Linked DNA regions of Homo sapiens: regions 1, 2, 4 and 5 are each linked to region 3. The links are contacts of gene promoters, found by promoter capture Hi-C in blood cells and fetal thymus (Javierre and others, 2016). All regions are on one chromosome and are shown on one strand. The core of a region is centred on a gene start or on the middle of the fragment in contact, and the rest is flanking DNA. Distances in the headings are between cores, read along the strand shown.

Region 1 (2,700 bases), core at 120-2,619, 750 kb before region 3:
AATTCATTAGGCTGCTTCTGACAGCAGCAATTACAGCCATGAAGTAGTTACCGCTAAAACCACCATCCTTTTTCAAGGGGTTATAGAGAGCTCGTCGGTAACTGTGACCTGTTTCTATCACCTGTGGTTCTCAGCAATACAATGCTTGGCACACAGTAGGCTCACAGCAAATGTCATCAGACTGACTAGAGACACCAGTGATTAGAAAGGCCATAGCTGGAAGTCAAGTTGGATGAGCTAACATTCCACAACGCCAACGCTTTTATTTAGTTACGTATTCTTTCAATATTGCATTTCGAAAACTTCAGGGGCTAAAAAGAGCTCAGAATGAGTTGGTACATTTTCATCAGTTGGGTATCTCTGAATGTCTTCAATGAACACATATAAAATTGGATTCAGAGTGGGTCAGTCTGGCAACCGCCCAGGAAGCCAATCCCCTGGGGCACTAAGTTACCCTGAAATAGAACTGAAATACAGGGGTAGCTGGCACAGGTCTCCCGAGGTGACTCCTTCCTGCTTGGTGAAATGTGCAGGTACCCAGATCCAAGAGAGGATCCAAAAGTATTTAGCAGAAACACACACACACACACACACAGAGAGAGAGAGAGACACACACACACAGGCTCGCCCTGGTCTCTGTCTCAGTCATTAACAATGGCTGTCACCTTAAAGAAGGAACAAATGATCAACCCAGTCTCCCTGGCTCTTAGACACATTTATGGGAAGTCAGCAGGGCAGGAAACACTCACAGGAACCCCAAGTCTGAACTGCCTGCTTCTCAGATGCTGGAAGGAAGCCCGCGGAACTACGAAGAGGGCTGCAATGCAAAATACTAGGGGCCTTCGCAGGGGCGCGCGGGCCGGGCTGCTACAGCCCAGGCCCCGGGCCTTCGCCTGGAGTCCCCGATAGGGGTCAGAGGCCCCCGAGCCCCACTTATGCCCCCACTCCCCGAGCCAAGAAAAAAAAAATTATGCGCACATTTAGGGGGATCATTTGTTCATTTCCTCGGATTCTCACAGGGGTCAGTCCCCACCCTGCCGCCACCAAGTTTACAATCCACTGTCCCAGATCCTCGGGCTGGGGGGGGGGAGGGGCGCGCCGAGGAGGGCTTAGTAGGAGGGCAGCGCCCGGCCTGGACCGGCCCTAGGCTCCCGGGTGCAGCCGGTGAAATGAAGCCGAAAGCCGTAGGCGGCGGCGGGGCCTGCGGGACCCGCGTCCTACCTGCCTCCCCCAGTCCCGGCCCGGTGCCGGGCCCGCCGCCGCCCGCTTGGCCCCGCACCGCCCGCCGAGGCGCAGTTCCGAGGGTCAGGCCCCGGAGCAACCAGAGGAGCCGCGCCATGACGCCCGCTCCGGCGCCGCTCCGCCCTCTGCCCTCTGCCCGTCTCTGCCCCTGCTCCCATCCCACCCCTCCCCCATTCTCTCCCGTCCGCCTGCGCTAGTCGGCCTCCCTCCCCACGCTCCGCCCACACCGCCAGTCCCCTCGTCTCCCTCCCCCTCTTCTCCCTCCCCTGCCCCTCCCTCCTTCCCTCCTTCCCACCTGCTCCTCCCACTATGTGCCCTGGGCCCTCCCAGGTCCCCGCCCCTCTTTCCTCCCACTCTGCCTCTCTCTCCCCCTCCCTCTTCCTCTCCTTTTCCCCTTGCCTTTCCTCCCCCTTCCTCTCCCCCTTCCTCTCTCCCTTCCCTTCCATGAGACCCTCCCCAACCCATCTCTGCATCTCCCAGCTCCTCCCACTCCTGCTCCTCCCTCGCCCTGCCCCCCTCCACCTATCCCAACTCCACTCATCCGCAGCCCAAACACTGATCTGTTTTAGTTTGCATTTTCTAGAGTCGTCCATAAATGGAATCATCCCATATGTACTTGATTTTGTCTGGCTTCTTTCACTCAACATAGTTACTTTGACATGCCTGCGTGTTTTTGCATGGAACAATCATTCATTGCTTCCTGAGCAGTATTCCATTTATGGATATACCACCGTGTGTTTAGTCAGCACTTGATTTAGCCTGCTTTCAATTTTTCCTGATTAGAACTACAGCTGCTAGGAACATCCCTGTGCAAATCTTTGTACAGACATATACGGTTTTTCCTCTCTGGGGTAAATACCTGGAAGTGGAATGCCCAGGTCGTAAGGTAGGTGTAACCATTTAAGAAACTACTATACTGTTTTCCCAAGTGGTTTTTTTCTTTACCTTCCCACTAGCAGTCTATGCGAGTTCCAGTTGTTCTTCATCCTTGCCAACACTTGAAAGTCCAGAGATTTTAACTGTAGATGTTCCGGTTCTGTGTAGTGGTAGCTCATTGTGGCTTTATTATGCATTCTCTAATCGTTAATGATGTTAAGCATCTTTTCATGTGCGTATTTGCAGCGAGTGTATTTTCCTTGGTGAAGTGTCCGTTCAGATCTTTTGCCCATTTAATGTTGAGTTGTTTCATTATTGAGCTTAGAACACTTTATATATTTTGGATGCAAATCTTTTATCAAACATATGCTTTACAAAGATTTTTTTTCCCAGTCTCTTGTTTGTCTTTTCTGTCTCCTAATATTGTCTTGGGAAGAGCAGTTTTTAATTTTGATGAAGCCCAATTTATCAATTTGTTAATGGATTGTTCTTTTTTTGGTATCATATTTAAGAAATCTTTGCCTAATCCAAGATCACAAAGATTCTCTCCTATGTTTTGTTCTAAAATTTTTATAGTTCTAG
Region 2 (2,700 bases), core at 128-2,627, 810 kb after region 3:
CTGGGTGTTAAGTGCTACAGGCCTGTAAGTCCCAGCTACTCAGGAAGCTGCGGCAGGAGGATCTCTTGAGCTCAGGACTTCAAGGCTGCAGTGAGCAATGATTGCGCCACTCCACTCCAGCCTGGGGAACAGAGCAAGACTGTCTCAAAATAATAAAATACAAATAGTTCTGAGACTCAACACATTTTTATAGGTTACTCAACCATTATTTCTTTCTTTTTTTGTGAGACGAGTCTCGCTCTGTCGCCCAGGCTGGAGTGCAGTGGCGCAACCTCAGCTCACTGGAACCTCTGCCTCCCAGGTCCAAGCGATTCTCCTGCCTCAGTCTCCCAAGTGGCTGGCATTACAGGTGCACACCACCACACCCAGCTAATTTTTGTATTTTTAGTAGAGGTGGGGTTTCGCCATGTTGCTCAGGCTGGTCTCAAACTCCTGACCTCAGGTCATCCACCCACTTTGGCCTCCCACAGTGCAAGGATTACAAGCACGAGCCACAGCACCCAGCCCATTATTTCTACCGCTCAAAAATTGCCCAGGCAAACACAAAAGCTTCTGCTTTTGCTATATGCCTAGGTAAAGAAGCTAAAATGTTTGTTCTCTACCTTCAGTCTAATTCCATAATCAACACCAAGGGAAAGGAATTTGCTATAACAAGATGTCTTGGAATAAATAATAAATCAATAAATATAATAAGATTTTAAAAAGGAACTATCATATTTTAAATGGTAGGTTTGCATAACTAATGAAAATAAAATCTATTTCTGATATTTTCAGAAATCCAAATGGGAAAAATGCTTGTGGATACAAAGGATAAACATACCTCCCTCACTGTGTTTTTTGTGAGACAGTCTCTCACTCTGTCACCCAGGCTGGAGTCATGGTTCACTGCAGCCTCAACCTCCCAGGTTCAAGCAATCCTCCTGTCTCAGCTTCCAGAGTAGCTGGGAGTACAGGTGCAAGCCACCACGCCCAACTAATTTTTTTTTTTTTTTGAAACAGTCTCACTCTGTTTGGAGTGCAGGCTGGAGTGCAGTGGCACAATCTTGGCTCACTGCAACCTCTGGCTCCCTCATTCAAGCGATTCTCCCGTCTTAGCCCCCAGAGTAGCTAGACTATAGGCACGCGCTGCCACATCCAGTTAATTTTTTGTATTTTTAGCAGAGATAGGTTTCACCATGTCGGCCAGGCTGGTCTCAAACTCCTGACCCCAAGTGATCCGCCCACCTCAGCCTACCAAAGTGCTGGAATTATAGGCATGAGCCACTGTGCCCAGCCCCAACTAATTTTTAAAATTTTTCTTTTGTAGAGACTAAGTTGACCAGGCTGGTTTCAAACTCCTGGACTCAAGCAATCCTCCTGCCTCGGCTTCCCAAAGTGGTGGGATTACAGGTGTGAGTCACTGCACCCGGCCTACCTCCTTTTTGTTTTTTTTTTTCCTTTCCTGAGAGTCTTGCTCTGTCACCCAGGTTGGAGTGCAATGGCATGATCTCAGCTCACTGCAACCTCCGCCTCCCAGGTTCACGCCATTCTCCTGCCTCAGCCTCCCAAATAGCTGGGATTATAGGGCGTGCCACCACGCCCAGCTAATGTTTGTAATTTGTTTTTCTTTTTTTTGAGACAGAGTTTCACTCTTATTGCCCAAGCTGGAGTGCAATGGCACCATCTCAGCTCACTGCAACCTCTACCTCCCGGGTTCAAGTAATTCTCCTGCTTCAGCCTCCTAAGTAGCTGGGACTACAGGTGCTTGCCACACCCAGCTAATTTTTGTATTTGTAGTAGAGACGGGGTTTCACCATGTTGGCCAGGGTGGTCTCCATCTTTTGACCTCGAGATACTCCCGCCTCGGCCTCCCAAAGTGCTGGGATTACAGGTGTGAACCACTGCACCCGGCACCTCCTTCATTCTTATAAGAGGTTTAGAAAAGTTCTGAAATAAGGTAACCACCCAAGTTAAAAAAAAAAAAAAAAAAAAGATTTTTATGTTGGTTTGCCAAAGGGACTGAATGCCTGAAATCAGTGAGTGTTCGAAGTTAAACTATACACCCAAAGATGTAGTAAAAGGAATATGATAGTCACTAAAATTATTGGGTTTTTTTCCCATTACACAAAACCTAAGAGAATTATCAATGTAACTTCCTTATGTTTCTATTTCCATTATATTTTAACTATGATTAGCCAGTGTAACCTTCAAACTTCTTCAAGCTTTCTTGATTCTGTAACTAGTTAACAAAGCCCAAATATGACTATGTATTTTTGTTTTCAAAGTATCCAAAATATACTCACTTGATTCCATTTGTTTTTCAGTTTTACAAAATCTGTTTAATACTCCAAGTCAATATTTGGCCTAAATTATCTCTTACATTATGATATTTGAAGAAATGACTGACAACCCCACAAACCACAACAGGAGTGCAGTTCCTAATTTCCTAACCTACTCACTAAAGTTTAATGTTTTTGATAAATAGTCCTTACCACTCTGGCTGCTCTCTCCTGAGATTCACATTTCCTGCAAAACCACGGTCCAGTGGGTACTTGAACAATGCCATAGCAAGCTGTTGAAAAATGAAATGTGTTAAAATGTTAAGATTCGAAGAACTATGGAAAAATCAAATACCCTTTCAAAGCCCTATTAATCCACCTGTCACTATTCAAGTAAACTACCTCTTTACAGAGAAGTAAAACAGTTCACATCCTATTTATC
Region 3 (2,700 bases), core at 17-2,516:
GAAGTATCACATAGGTGCAGTAGTAATTCCCCTCAAAGAAACCCAGAGTAATCATTACACTTAAGTATTCTTGCTGTCAACATGTTAATTGTTTAAATTATGTGTTAGTTTTAAAGATCACATCCTATAAACTGAAGATTTCTCATGACACAGTAGTGATAAAATGCTACCTTACAGTTCAGATGGTGGTAGAATCATCCAAAAAAAAAGAAGAAGAAAGAAGAAAGAAGAAAAGAAGAAGAAGAAGAGGAAGAAGAAGAAGAAAGAAGAAGAAGAAGAAGAAGAAGAAGAAGAAGAAGAAGAAGAAGAAGAAGAAGAAGAAGAAGAAGAACCATTTTCTCTTATCAGTTTATGTTATGAGATAAGAAGATCTCTCTCCCTCCCTCTCCCCCTCTCTCCCCCTCTCACATCTGCAAGAGTCCGGACTGAGGAGTAGAAGGAACGCGCCATAAGGATTTCGCAAAGTCTGGTCTCTACCTACTTGGAATTTCTTGGAAAAGATTCAAGCATATCATTCCCCTTTCACTAAAGCAAGACGAGAAATCACGTCTAAACCACTGGAATTGCTTTGCTGTGAGGAAGTCGAAGGTGATCAAAGGCAGGGTGGCATGCAAAATGGCACTTGGATAAAATGGGTCTCATTAGGGTAGAGTCCCATTCACGTAAAATGACTCCAGGCAATTCCTAGGGCCTCGACTTTCAACCTGACACTTGCCTGTGTGCAATGAAGATGGAAACAGGGACAACGCGCACCTCCCACAACCATCTGGAAGCTTCACCCTCTCGGCCTGACCCCCAAAGACCCGCTGAAAAGAATGGATGCTTTTGCGAACTCCGGTCCCCACACTGCGGCTCCCCAAGAGCTCCACGGGCAGGGCAGCGGGGCGGAGGCGTCGGGGACTCAGTGCGCGGGGGGCGACGGGGGTTCGGGCTCCGGGCTCACCCGCGTTCTGCAGCGTCTCGATGTTTTGGGGTCTAGTCGCCAGCTCCGCCACCATCTGCACGAACTGGGTCCTGGCCTTCTGGTATTGCTCGAACACTGCGGGAGAGAGAGTCGGTGGAGCCCACCGCACCCGGGTCTCCTCGGCGCCAGCTAGTTAGGGCACCTGCCCGCCTCGGCCCTACCTTGCAGCACCTGCCTCTGACTCATGGCGCCCCCGCCGCCGTCTGCCCTCCTCGAGCTCTGCGGGGAAGCCGCTCGGCCTGCGAGTCCACCAAGGGGGCGATCGTGGCGACGACTCGGCCTCCGACGGGAGCCGCTTCTCTGTGTACCCGCGTCTCCCGGGCAACCTACCGGAACCGGAACGCGGCCGTCTTGCTGCAACGGCCAGTCCCGGGCGTGACGTCACGGCCGCGGTGCCTGGGCGCACTGAGCGGGGCGGCGGCGCGAAGACGCCCGAGCTCGAGGACTCGGACTGCTGGGGCTCTCAGCGCGCCAGGCTCGCGGAGCCGCCGGGACATCGCGCGCCGTCGAGTATCCCTGCACTGCCCGGAGGTCGGAGCTCCTTACAAAGCGACCCCAGATTGCCGTGGTATCCTGACTGCGGCGCGGGTCGGGACCAAGCGCCGGGAGAGCCCCACGCGCCAAGGGAGCCTGGTTCGAGGGCAGCCAGACGAGTAAATTGCAGCCCTGGAGTTGTCTGAGCTTCGACGGTCCCGAGAAATCTCACACGTCACATTGTACAATCCGATCAACACATGAATGTCAATGCAACTTAAGTGTTGCATTGACATTTAACACTGCACTGACAGTAAAACACTGATTTAGGAATCCGTGTTTTCTTTTGTAACCCGCTGTTATATACCTGGCATTCCTGGTTTCAAGATTCCTGGAGGAGCATGACAACCATGTTCACACACTTAATTACACTGTATTGAAAGCATTTAATGAGCACTCAGAGACTCAGTGAGGAAAGCAGATGAGGAAAGGATGTGATGAATGTCCTGTCTTCCCTGGCTTTCTCCTAATGACTACTAATTTTGCTGTTTCCTCACTTTTATGTGATTTGTAAATATTTTGTCTTAGTCTTTTAAATTTAGGCTTCGTTATGTTGATGAATGACATCTCCAACAGAAAAAGAGAGAGAACCTTTACCTGGAAAACCAGACTTCCCTATCTTATATAACTTGAACCCTTTACCCAGTTTCTTTTAACAAAATTGAAGTACTTAGTCTATTACTGGTTTCTAGCTTGTCTTTGAAAACTATATACCAGTTGTTTCAATGACAGTTGTCAACTTTAAATGTTCCTCCATCAAAAACTACAATTTCACCAGATGTCAAGTGGATACATAGCCGCAGCTGCTGCTAAGTAGTGCCAAGACAGGAAACCCCTTGATATTTCTTCAACAGAAGGGAGCATGCAAACTTAACTGGTTCTATATTTGGAATGAGTCCTCTATATTTATCTTTGAGATCTCACCCTTCACTGAGCTCTTGATGAAGTCCTGATACTTTGTGGAGCTCCAAATAGTTGGGGAATGGTCCAGCAATCAGAGAGAAGAATAAGTGTGTTTAGTCGGGTCCCTAATACCCCCGAAGGGCAGGTACATGTCTTCTGCTTCTGCAGCTCAAAAGCCAGTGATGGCCACAATCTTTTTACTTAATTCAAAGTCGTAAGTTTTACAGTGATATCTATATTTCCCTATGGGAATATGTCCTTTAAAATTAAAGTTATGCGTTCCCATTTAGAGACGTGGG
Region 4 (2,700 bases), core at 105-2,604, 630 kb before region 3:
TCTAGCACTGGCCTCAAAGATGTTGGTTCTGCCCTAATATTGTGTTCTGGTCAGAAGTGGGCAGTACTGCCCAAAAATGTCATGGCTAAGGCAGATCAGAGTCCTTAGGGGAAATCCTGCTTCTGGAATGGAGAGATTTTCTCAAAGCTCTGCACTTCCAATGAGAAGAGCATTCATTCATAATAATTTATTGGGATATGTGAACAGAGAGAAAGTTTGAATCTTCGTGGAATCATCTATCTTTCTAGAGGTTCCAAGAATCAAGCTTTCAGACCAGATATCTCCTAGGCTATAAGAAAATTAAACCACCTCTGCATTCACTGAATTTGAAGACCTACCTGGCATACTTTTTCAGTTTTTGTAGAGTTGCCAAAGATGAAAACAATTTAAGAAGGAAGGAGGCTATGTCAGAAGGGATGGAGGAAGATTACCAGTTGAATAAGTTGAATTATAAAATGGAAGTTTGCACAGTAATAGAGGAAACCTGCAAGACCATGGTGAAGGAGCCCGACTTTAATACAGATGGGCAGTTGGTTGAATGATGTTAAGGTAGATCTGGGAAATGGAGGTTCTGCTCAGCAATGGAAGTTAACTTTTGTGCTGTGCTTGCTTGGTATTCCAATGAGGGCCGGGTTACTTTAGTTCATGCACAGGTTGTTGCTTTAATCTACCATAGTGGGAACAGGTGAAGGTCTGGTGTGAGAAAACTGGTAGCAGATGTAGAGCAGAGTGGGCTATACTAGGTTACAGCACGAGGAAGCAGGTTTTTTAATTTCTTAAGGACAGAAAGAGAAACCAGTTATTTTATTGACACCTTGAAAATTAACAGAATTAGAAAATTTGAGATTTCCTCTAAATCTAGCCATTTGAAGAACATGGATACCAATAGATCAAAACAGCATTTCCCAAACCAGAATCCAGACAAAAGGCCCAAACCAGAGCAAATGAGTATAAAATTATGGTCGAACAAAGTTATACAATCCAGACCACAAGGGAGAGTTTCTGAGGAAGAACAAATTGATAACCAATGGCCATGTGCTTGTGTAAAATAGAAGAATCTCTGATGCCAAGTGGGGCTATCTGGATTTGATCCTGCTTATTCTAGCTCAAGAGTTATTCAGAAGACAGGTGGGCTTCAGGCAGTCCGTGAACTCCCTGCAATTATATGCAGAATGTAGTGTATTTGTGCATTTTCAGAAGGTTACTCTTTGTTCAGATTGTCAAAGAAACTTAACACTCCCCAAAGTGGAGTGTGGGCAGTATAGTTGGATGTGCTTGGAAGCTGTCAGAAATACAGGCAGGAATTCAGAAGACAGGTCAGAATTAGAAACAGATTTGGGATTCATAAGCAAATAAGGAGGCAGCTGAAACATTAGTCATAAGTAAGAGTGCTCAGGGAGATTTTCAAGAGAACAAGACATAAAACAGAAGGCAAGTTTAGGTTGAAATAAGCTGAGGAAAGTGGTAAAGGTGAAGGCTGGTCTGGTAATTTGAAGAACAATCAGGAGAGAGGGGTGTTTTGAAAACGATGGAATAAAAGAGTTTACAGGAGGAGAGGGCAATCAGCAGTGTGGATTCCCACCCAGAGGTCACGTTAAAAAGGACTGAAAATGCCTCTGCAGGATTTCGGAGTTGAGAGGTCAACGTCAAATTGTACAAGGACTATTTTGGCAGAATGGCAGAAACAGAAGTCAGGTGCAGCAGGTGAAATGATGGAGATGAGCTGAGGAGATGTGGCTATTTAAAATGGACTGATCTGTCAAAGAGGTTGATAAGAAAAGGAGAAAAAGAGGACCCTGGGGCAAGGGGAAGAGAGGAAGAAACAAATTTCCACAAGTCACCCAGGCCACAGACAATGAAGGGCCTCTTAGAAAGCTCTGAACTTATATCACCTTCCTCTTATATAAACCAGTGGGATCAGGAGAATCGAACTCTGGCGTTGCAATACTGCATTATGGGAAAGTCTCCTCCTCATCCACAATTGGGCTAAAGGAGTCCACTGCCCTTTCAATTGATGGGAAAACAGGCAAAGGGCACCCTGTAGGCTTCATCTATTCATTAAAACTAGGCCCAGGTAGAGTCCTCTGCATTCCATGATGAGCATTAAAAACCAAAATTATGAAACACTGCATAGAAAGGAGAACAGAGATGGTCTAAAAATAAGTATTCATGAGGAAAAAAGATTAAGTGAAACAAAAACAAGAATCCAAAGTATAGTGGAAAAAACTAGCTTCCTGAATTAGGGGAAAAAATCATGACTCTGGAGATCAAAAGGCTTGCCTGTGTAGTGGAGACAGTGGAGAGGGGGACTTAGACATATTTCGGCAAAATTTTCAAACTCAGGATAAAAAATTCTACCTTAATACAGCAAAAAAATCATATATGCAAAATAATGCAAATCAGGCTTGAACAATACAAAAGCAATCTTCATAGATAAGCTTTTCATTTTTGTTTTTTTGAGATGGACTTTCTCTGTTGTTGCCCAGGCTGGAGTGCGATGGTGCGATCTTGGCTCACTGCAACCTCCACCTCCTAGGTTCAAGTGATTGTCCTACCTCAGCCTCCCGAGTAGCTGGGATTACAAGCATGTATCACTACACCTGGCTAATTTTTTTGTATTTTTAGTAGAGATGGGGTTTCACGGTTTCACCATGTTGGCCAGGCTGGCCTTGAACTCCTGACCTCAGGTGATCCACCCGC
Region 5 (2,700 bases), core at 45-2,544, 650 kb before region 3:
AATGCAAACAATAAATTCTCAAATACTTTGTCTTTTGTGTGTACCAGGGAGTTTTTGGAAAACTAAAGGAGTTCGCAGGGTCATACATCATCTTTTTCTTTCATCTTGAAAACTAAGAAACGAAGAAAAATTGGATCATGGAAATACAGGAATTTACATCAGGTATATCCGAACAGTCAGCCTTTCTGCTTTGATTTTGTTTCTTTCTTTCTCCTCTACAAAGGCATATTTTGACTTGGTTCATTTATATCTCTACCTTCTGCTCTTTTCTTTGCTCTTGATGGAGACAGTAAAGGGAAATGCATAAAAAACTAGGTGTTTAAAAAACCAAAGATTCTAGTACACAGTGGAATATAGCTTTTACTAAATTGAACATAAATGCCAGCACAGAAAGATGAGTCGTGCAGGCACAGCTGGCACAACCTGCATTATATGTACATATTTGCCCGTAATTTGCTATATGCAGCACTAAGTCTAAAAAGAATAATTGAGATTAACTTATTATGGTGGTAAATTAAACTATTATTCTTACCTTAAAAAAACTAATTTTATATACAGAAGTAGAGCCCAGAACTTGTACTTTAAAAAACAAAAAAGAATTGAACAAAATTCTTTTTTGAAACAAAATTGTTTGTTTAAAAAACAAAAAAGAATTGAATTAATTCTGTTTATTTCAAACCTCAGACATTCTGTTGTATTTTTCCCTGTACACAAGCTGAAGCCTGTCATATTTTTAAAGCCATTATTTTGGTTTCCCAAATAGTATAGCATTATCCAAATGAATGGGATGGAAGTCAAACTGCTTTGTTTTAAAATCCAGAATTATAGGGCCATATGTCATCACAATAATTTGAAAATATTTTCTGATATTTACTATCATTAGTCTCCATCCAGTTGGAGTTTAATCAAGTAAGAGTTTAAAATGTAAATTGGGAAAAAAACAAACTAAAAAACAAATATGGGAATGTATGAAAACATCTGTTTATATCATTTGATATATGTAAACAGAGGTGAAGCTTGACATGTCATGTGACGTCAATCTATTAGCAAGTCCTGACTATTTTCCTCCTCCATATTTCTCAAATCTCTCCCTTCTCTCCATCCTCCCACAGAATCCAATTCAGCATCCTCTCTTGTGGGTTGATATAAATAATCTCCTAAGAGGTCTCTCCTCACCCCCTCCAGTCCTTCCTCCGTCTTACAGCTAAAGTGATGTTTTAAAATTATAATCATATTGCTCCCCTACTTAAAACTTTCACGGTTTCCCATTGCTTAGGATAAAGTTCCCAATTTTTTCTTTTTCTTTTTTGTTATATTTTTAAATTATTTTTCTAGAGATGGAGTCTTGCTACGTTGCCCAGGCTAGTCCCAAACTTCTGGCCTCAAGCAATCCTGCCACCTCGGCCTCCCAAAGTGCTGGAATTACAGGAGTGAGCCGCCATGCCTGGCCTACCCCCAAATTTCTGACATGGCCTCCAAGGCCTTACACAAGCGGCCCCCACTTCTCACGCCAGCCCCATGCACCCCCAGCCCCTCGCCGCCTCTTCCTGTTGCTCCGTGCTCTAAGCTTCTCTTGCAGCCTTCAATATGCCAGGCTCTTTCCCACATCAGGGCTCCCCTGCGCTCTTCCCATTTCCTGACATCCTCTTCCCCCAGGACAATGCCCAGCCCTCTTTCACAGCTCAGCACAAATGTCTTTTCCTCAAGGAGGCACTTCTGGATCCCCAAAGGAGATTTCTTTTTAACATGAGCTCAGAGCATTTGTGTGCTAAATATACACATTTCTTTTTGTTTAAAAATATGATGTTCTGGCATAAATGTTTACATCAGAAAAAAGTAACAATTTAAAAATGTTATTTTGCAGCACTCATGAATGGAATTCAGCAGATTTTTCATTCAAATGCCCAAGCCCCACAATAAAAGAGCACTTACAGAAAGGATGCTAAGAACATCACTGAGGAAAAATTCAAACACAAATAGCGTCTATGGCTCACTAAAAATATTGTGCGATTTCATGTCTGTGTCTTTGCACTTGTGGTCCCTTTGTCCCAAACACCCTTCCCTATCCCTCTGGCACTTGTGGCTGGAGAACACTAGCTCATTCTTCACTCTCTGCTTACCTGTCCCTTCCTCTGCAAAGTCATCTGTGACCATCACGGCCCTCCTTGTTAATCACTCCCTCTGCTGTGCTATGTCTGTACCTGGTACTTACCTCTTAGAGGTAATATTTGAGTCTTATTTATATTTCCGGTGCTGAGAAGATCAATGTATTTTAATTGACTCGAATCAACTCAAGGTGAGTGAGCAGAAATTCGCTGCAGGTATCAAGAAGAAGGGAGGGGGAAAGTGCTTAGCTCAGCTTTAAGTTTGCAAGAAGGGATAGGATCCAGCAACACTGCGATTTCCAGTTTTATCACTTACAGCTGCTCTTGAAATTGGTTCATTTCCTCCCTGCCCTCATGCTTCTCCAATTATACAGTGAGGTAATTTTTAGATGGTATTCAAGAAATAAAATTTTACACTTTAGACAACTTCTTGGGAATATATTCTTCTCTTTTATCAAGGGATGTCTCTATTTTGTCTTTGCAGACATTGTTGACTCTGTTTATTTTAGTGTGCACCAGTTGACACCATTTGGTACCTTTCAGAGTTGAATCCTTGCTTCAATTTGAGGTTCACATTCAACCCAACTGCAAAGTC

What was found. Contacts are between HindIII fragments. The CHiCAGO score rates a contact against its expected background, and 5 or more counts as called.
Region 1: the fragment with the promoter of MSRB2 here is called in contact with the fragment with the promoter of SPAG6 in region 3 in 1 of 17 cell types (neutrophils); the score reaches 5.8 in neutrophils.
Region 2: a contact is called between a fragment that was not itself captured here and the fragment with the promoter of SPAG6 in region 3, in 4 of 17 cell types (total B cells, naive B cells, total CD4 T cells and 1 more). The highest score is 17.4, in total B cells.
Region 4: a fragment that was not itself captured here is called in contact with the fragment with the promoter of SPAG6 in region 3 in 3 of 17 cell types (fetal thymus, erythroblasts and total B cells); the score reaches 8.3 in fetal thymus.
Region 5: a contact is called between a fragment that was not itself captured here and the fragment with the promoter of SPAG6 in region 3, in 1 of 17 cell types (fetal thymus). The highest score is 6.9, in fetal thymus.

The regions. Positions count from the first base shown.
Region 1 is chr10:23,094,248-23,096,947 of GRCh38, reverse strand. MSRB2 (methionine sulfoxide reductase B2) reads right to left here and starts at 1,369. Exons shown (of 5, transcript NM_012228.4): 1 at 1,222-1,369. The coding sequence starts at 1,339. LOC107984215 (a long non-coding RNA gene) reads left to right here and starts at 1,669. Exons shown (of 3, transcript XR_001747394.2): 1 at 1,669-2,128. RefSeq lists a silencer at 1,092-1,561. The HindIII fragment of the contact is 9,169 bases long and covers 1-2,700 here.
Region 2 is chr10:21,538,684-21,541,383 of GRCh38, reverse strand. It overlaps MLLT10 (MLLT10 histone lysine methyltransferase DOT1L cofactor), which reads right to left. Exons shown (of 23, transcript NM_001195626.3): 3 at 2,472-2,551. Among named protein-coding and RNA genes, the nearest start is that of MLLT10, 5.8 kb to the right of the region's middle. The HindIII fragment of the contact is 1,652 bases long and covers 552-2,203 here.
Region 3 is chr10:22,344,062-22,346,761 of GRCh38, reverse strand. SPAG6 (sperm associated antigen 6) reads right to left here and starts at 1,266. Exons shown (of 11, transcript NM_012443.4): 1 at 1,126-1,266; 2 at 944-1,039. The coding sequence starts at 1,150. RefSeq lists enhancers at 421-1,237, 1,198-1,417. The HindIII fragment of the contact is 2,343 bases long and covers 776-2,700 here.
Region 4 is chr10:22,975,324-22,978,023 of GRCh38, reverse strand. The region is part of intron 8 of ARMC3 (armadillo repeat containing 3); the gene reads right to left. Among named protein-coding and RNA genes, the nearest start is that of ARMC3, 49 kb to the right of the region's middle. The HindIII fragment of the contact is 2,173 bases long and covers 268-2,440 here.
Region 5 is chr10:22,993,166-22,995,865 of GRCh38, reverse strand. The region is part of intron 10 of ARMC3 (armadillo repeat containing 3); the gene reads right to left. LOC107984215 (a long non-coding RNA gene) reads left to right here. Exons shown (of 3, transcript XR_001747394.2): 3 at 48-442. Among named protein-coding and RNA genes, the nearest start is that of ARMC3, 66 kb to the right of the region's middle. The HindIII fragment of the contact is 551 bases long and covers 1,019-1,569 here.